Regions from separate parts of the Homo sapiens genome. Here region 1 is linked to region 2. Evidence: promoter capture Hi-C in 16 types of primary human blood cells and fetal thymus (Javierre and others, 2016). All regions are on one chromosome and are shown on one strand. Each heading gives the region's core, a stretch centred on a gene start or on the middle of the fragment in contact. The rest is flanking DNA. Distances are from core to core; before and after follow the strand shown. Region 1 overlaps RPRD1B (regulation of nuclear pre-mRNA domain containing 1B). Region 2 holds the start of KIAA1755.

Region 1 (2,700 bases), core at 67-2,566, 200 kb after region 2:
AAGGTGTGTGTGAGGAAGTGAAAAGAGAGACTCCAATCTGAATAAAGAAGAAAATGAGGACTCGAGGACTAGGAAGAGGTGGGGGAGGAATCAAGAGACTGCAGGTCCCAGTGGGGTGAATTCCTGGGGTGGGAAAGCAGAGTGAGGGGCTGAGATGCTTCTTGCGTGACTCACAAGGCCTCCGAGCTGTGTTCTCCAACCCAGTACGCCCACTGCCTGAGGTCTTTCCCTGTGCTGCTTCCACTGCCTGGTGGCCCTTCCTTCCCTTGGATATCCTCATGGCTTGCTTCCTAATTTTTCGGGTCTCTGCTCAAGGTCATCTCATCAGAAAGGCTTTCCCCAAACACCTTTAAAATACCATTAATACCGCCTGCAATCATTTTCCGCTCCCACTGCCCTGCTTTATTTTCCTTCTTGACACTTCACTTGAGGGGATATAGGTGGGCCTCAAATATTTGTTGAGGGAAATATTTCATCAGTGACCTTGATTTCCTTTAGATAGATATGGAAGAAGTTAGAGAAGCAGCCAAGTCAAGGGACTGGAGTGGGAAAATGGTGGCCTTTGGAAGACAATGGAATGAAAGGTCTGAGCTTTTGTAAGGGGAGGAACATAGGCTTTGCAGCCTAGATTAGAATCCCAAGATCCACTACTTGTGTGACCTTGGACAAGACACCTATCTTCTCAAAGCCTCAATGTCCTCCTATGCAATATGGAGACACACATTTAGTCACCTCCAAAGACTATCACAAAGAACAGAAGTACCGGTGCAAAGCCTACTGTCAATATTAGTTCATGCTTCATTCCTTCCTTTCAATTTCCCATAAGGAAAGCAGGAATCGTGTCAACTGCCCCTCCCTGTTTAACTAGGGAGGTCACGACTAGGGCAAAATGACATGTCTAACAGACACCTGAAATTCCTGGCACTGAACGCACTATCATCTACGGGGCTTGTCAGAGAGCAGGGCACAAATCACACAGCCCTGAATCATAATTTTTTTTCTTTTAGTAAGAGGGTTATGAGTCTAACAGACAGAATAATACCTAATCTCCCCCACCCACCCCACACGCACACAATTTGTACTATGTTTTTAACAGACCTTATTTAGAGAGCCACAGGTTGTGGCACACCAGCATTTCTGCAATAATTCCTAGAATCACTATTCAAGCTTTGACTATTTCAAAAGTTTCTTTGTTCACCATGTGAGTTATGTTTGCAAATCCCAAGATGGTAGAGCAACCAATACAACATGGAAAGTAGTCTATACCTGCAGACGTTAAGTATGGCCTAGGGTTACTGCATTACAGTTATGTCCCTCTCTCCTCACCTTTCACCCAAACTCTACCTTCTCACCTGTTATTTTTTCCAATAGAGAAACATCTTGCACTTCCTGGGGCAGAGAAGCAATTTTCTGTCGGACAGTAGCATCCCCTGATGCGGCATTTTCCAGATCCTGCAAAGCTTTGATTAGTTCCTCAGTCTGTAAGATGAAAACACAAACAACACTACCCATTAAGACATGGGGTTTAAAGAAAATTAGTTGGAGTTAAATGAGGTGGAGGCAAATTCTAAAAACAGTCATTCCTGCCATTTCTTAAAAAAAACTGTTCTTAGCCCCAGAGCTTACATGTAAGTCAATGTCACGGACTCTAAGAAAATCCACAAAATTAGTTTATCTAAGTCCATGGCAGAACATGAATGAAATTCTGAATAATTATTATTATTTTTTAATTCTAAAAGAACATGTTTTTGGCAATTCAAAACAATGGAGTTTGGTTCATGTTGCTTAATTTCAAATGATGTATCATTTCCAGTATAGAATAAAGGTATAAATATCAGATGTTAACAACTGTGTGTTGTGGCCAGGTGTGGTGGCTCGCACCTGTAATCCTAGCACTTTGGGAAGCCAAGGCAGGAGGATCACTTGAGCCCAGGAGTTCGAGACCAGCCTGGACAATATAGCGACACCCTGTCTCTACAAAAAAATTAAAATAAAATAATAAGCCAAGCATGGTGGCATATGTCTATAGTCCCAGCTACTTGGGAGGCTGAGGTAGGAGTATCACTTGAGCCCCAGAGGTTGAGTTTGCAGTGAACTATGATCATGCTACTGCACGCCAGCCTGGGTAACAGAGCAAGATCCTGTCTCAAGAAGGAGAAGGAAAAAATTATATGTTGACTGATCAACCTACTTCAATTCTTTCTTGGGTTTTCTTGACAAAATGGATGTCACTCCCAAAATTAAATGTATCAAACTTATTATAAACCCAGGGGGAAAAAACAAGAAAAGTAAACCAGGGATACATTTTCTGTATATATCAAAAAGGAGTTTCTTAAATTGTCAGAAAACAATGCTAACAGGCCACTCCATAATCACCAAGGAGTAGCTAGCTCTGTAGATGGTAGTTAGATTACCCTGAAAGGTAATAATCTAGGCTGTAGTCTTTAAAGTGTTTAAATCCAAAGATATATGACCTAACACTGCTGTCATTTAATCCCTAGTCTAACTCAACACCGTAACATAACACAAACTAGACATGTTTCCTATTTACATAGGCTTTAAGCATGACCATGTGTAATAAAGCTGTTTTAGGCAAAATAAGATGAAGCCCCCCCCGCCCCCGCCTTGAAAAGAGCATGGGCTCTGAAGTCAGACACACCTGGATTTAAATTAAGACACTGGTCAAGTTACTTAAACTGT
Region 2 (2,700 bases), core at 12-2,511:
ATCACCTGAGGTCAGGAGTTCGAGACCAGCCTGGCCAACATGGCGAAATGCAGTCTCTACTAAAAATACAAAAATTGGCCAGGTGTGGTGGCGGGTGCCTAAAATCCCAGCTGCTCGGGAGGCTGAGGCAGGAAAATTGCTTGAACCTGGGAGGTAGAGGTTGCAGTGAGCTGAGATCATGCCACTGCACTCCAGCTTGGGTGGGCAACAGAGTGAGACTCCATCTCAAATATATATGTGTGTGCGTGTGTGTGTATATATATGTATATATGTGTGTATATATATGTGTGTGTATATATATGTGTGTGTATATATGCCTATACATATTAGTGCCTATATATGTATATATATAGGTGTATATATGTATATATATAGGTGTATATATGTATATATATAGGTATATATATGTAGGTGTATATATATATATAGAGAGAGGCACTAATCCCATTCGTGAGGGCTCTGTCCTCTCATGACCCAATCACTTTCCAAAGGCCCCACCTCCTAATGCCATCATACTGAGGATTAGGTCTGGACATACGAATTTGGGAGGGGACACACACATATAGACCCTAGCGGTCATCTAGTTTCTTAGTCTCACTCCAAAGCTGAGGCTCAGTAGGAAATACCGACTTGGCCAAGGTCATTATCTGAGAGTCAAGAACAGAACTCGCACACAGCCATCATCACCTCAAAGCCTTGAATTAGGCCGTCATGATGGGGCATAATGTGGGAGAATTCAAGGGCGCTGGGACAGATGCTTACTCCTCATCACCAAATCTAAGCAGCAGGCACTATCATCATCATCATCATCATCATCATCATCATCATCATCCTCCTCCCACCCCATTTTACAGATGAAGAAATCGAAGCTTAAGAGAGTCTGTGACTCCCTGGGAAGTGTAGGAGGAGGAGACTCGAACTTGGGCCTGCCAGCGAGGTCCGCGGGCGCTTAACCCGGCTGCTGCGGCTCGAGGCCTCGCTCTGCGGGTCTGTACAATGGGGCTGTCCGGGCCGGGTGCGCCGTGGGAAGAGCGAGGAGCGGGGAGGAAAACTTGGCGGGGCGGACTCGGGTTCCTCGGGTTCCAGCTGGCTGCTGAGGGGGTGGACGGAGGGAAGGGGGGGCGGTGGGGGCGGGGCGCGCGGGCTGGGCACAAAGGGCTCAGGCACAAAGGGGCCGCTGTCCCGCCGCGCCCCGCCCCGCCCCGCCTCTGCTGCCGCCCCCCGTCTGGTGGCCCGACCCGCGCCGCCCGCGGCTCCCTTATGTCTCTCGCCGTCTCCAGCCTCAGTCCCTCTCTGTCTCTCTCTCAGTCTCTCTCCCTGTCCTCCCCGGCCGCTCCTCCGAGATGACGCCGGGGTCGGTGCCCCGGGCCTGCCCTATCCCCTGGCTCCAGGGCTAGGCGGGACCGAGGGCTGCCCCAGACAGACGGACCCGCGGACCCACAGACCCCGCGCCCAGGAGAGGAGCCGCGCCGCCCGCCGCTGGCAGCCCGTCACCATGGTAACGCGCCAAGGCCTGGACCACCTCGCTCTGCCCCCTTTCAGTGGGCACAGCCCTCCCCATTCCCTGCAGAACAGCCCCGGGTGGCCCTGGCCTTTTACACTGAGACGACCCTCAGTGCCTTGGCAGGGTTGTGCTTACCTGCTTCCACCCCAGCAGGGGTTCAAGGGCAGGAGCCCATCTCTGGCCGCGTCCTCTCCTGGCTTCTCCATGTGTGTGTATGGATGGAGTAAGATTGTACTTGTAAACTTTAATATTCCCCAACCCCTAGACCTGAGCCTGAATCTCAGCCCTGAGGCTGAGGGCTGAAACGGGGTGGTTTTGCATGTTTGTTTTGGAACTGACTGTGATATGCACATTGTCCCGGCAGGGAGTTTGGATGGGGAAGAGTGGTGGTGGGGGTTAAAGTCCCCTCCCAGGCCAGCCAGGCAGTGCAGGGCGAGGAGGGTTAAGGGTCCAGGGTGAAAAGGAGAGAACTGCTTACCAAAACTTGGGATGCTTTTGCTGTTTTAGACTCAGCTATGGAAAGTCAGATATACACATTGAAACCCAGGGTGCTTCCATGGGAATTGGCTGGGGAGAGGGAAGAGGAAGGGACTTTTGGAGCTGGAACCTTGAAAAAAGTTGAGACATTCTGGGAGAATGTGTGTGTGTGTGTGTGTGTGTGTGTGTGTGTGGTGGTGGTGGTGGCAGGGATGCGTTTGTGCCAGTATCTGGCAACAGGGAATGAAAGAAAAGTCTGTTTTTGGAGGATTTCAGCCCAGCTCCAGACAGATACAAGAGCCCCAGGCAGATTCACAGGGGCTGTAAGGATTTTGAAAAAAGCTGTGAAGACAGGCCAAGGCTTTAACCCTGTGACTGTGACCAACCATGTTGAATTTGTGTGGGTTTTCACTCACAGCAAATGCATCTCCACAAGCAGAAGAATTCCATATAGAGGTGTTCATACTCTCTCTCTCTCTCTCTCACACACACACACACACACACGCAGGCACTCACACACACGTACACATGCACACACACGTACACATGCACACACACATACACATGCACGCACAGAGCACACCTGAATGCTCCCACTGACTCACACAGCTGAACACATGTTCACACCCTCTCATACACCCATGCCTTCTGCACCTGCTCCCCCATACTGCTAAACTATGGGCATACATTGGCATACACACCACAGACATATTGCAAAA

The links. The method cuts DNA at HindIII sites, captures the fragments that hold promoters and counts their contacts. A CHiCAGO score of 5 or more calls a contact.
Region 1: a contact is called between a fragment that was not itself captured here and the fragment with the promoter of KIAA1755 in region 2, in 1 of 17 cell types (monocytes). The highest score is 5.4, in monocytes.

What each region holds. Positions count from the first base shown.
Region 1 is chr20:38,058,173-38,060,872 of GRCh38, reverse strand. RPRD1B (regulation of nuclear pre-mRNA domain containing 1B) reads right to left here. Exons shown (of 7, transcript NM_021215.4): 5 at 1,353-1,479. Among named protein-coding and RNA genes, the nearest start is that of RPRD1B, 26 kb to the right of the region's middle. The HindIII fragment of the contact is 293 bases long and covers 1,170-1,462 here.
Region 2 is chr20:38,259,296-38,261,995 of GRCh38, reverse strand. It overlaps KIAA1755, which reads left to right and starts at 1,261. Exons shown (of 14, transcript NM_001029864.2): 1 at 1,261-1,498. The coding sequence starts at 1,496. LOC149684 (a long non-coding RNA gene) reads right to left here and starts at 1,821. Exons shown (of 2, transcript NR_104170.1): 1 at 1,640-1,821. RefSeq lists an enhancer at 1,004-1,503. The HindIII fragment of the contact is 7,247 bases long and covers 872-2,700 here.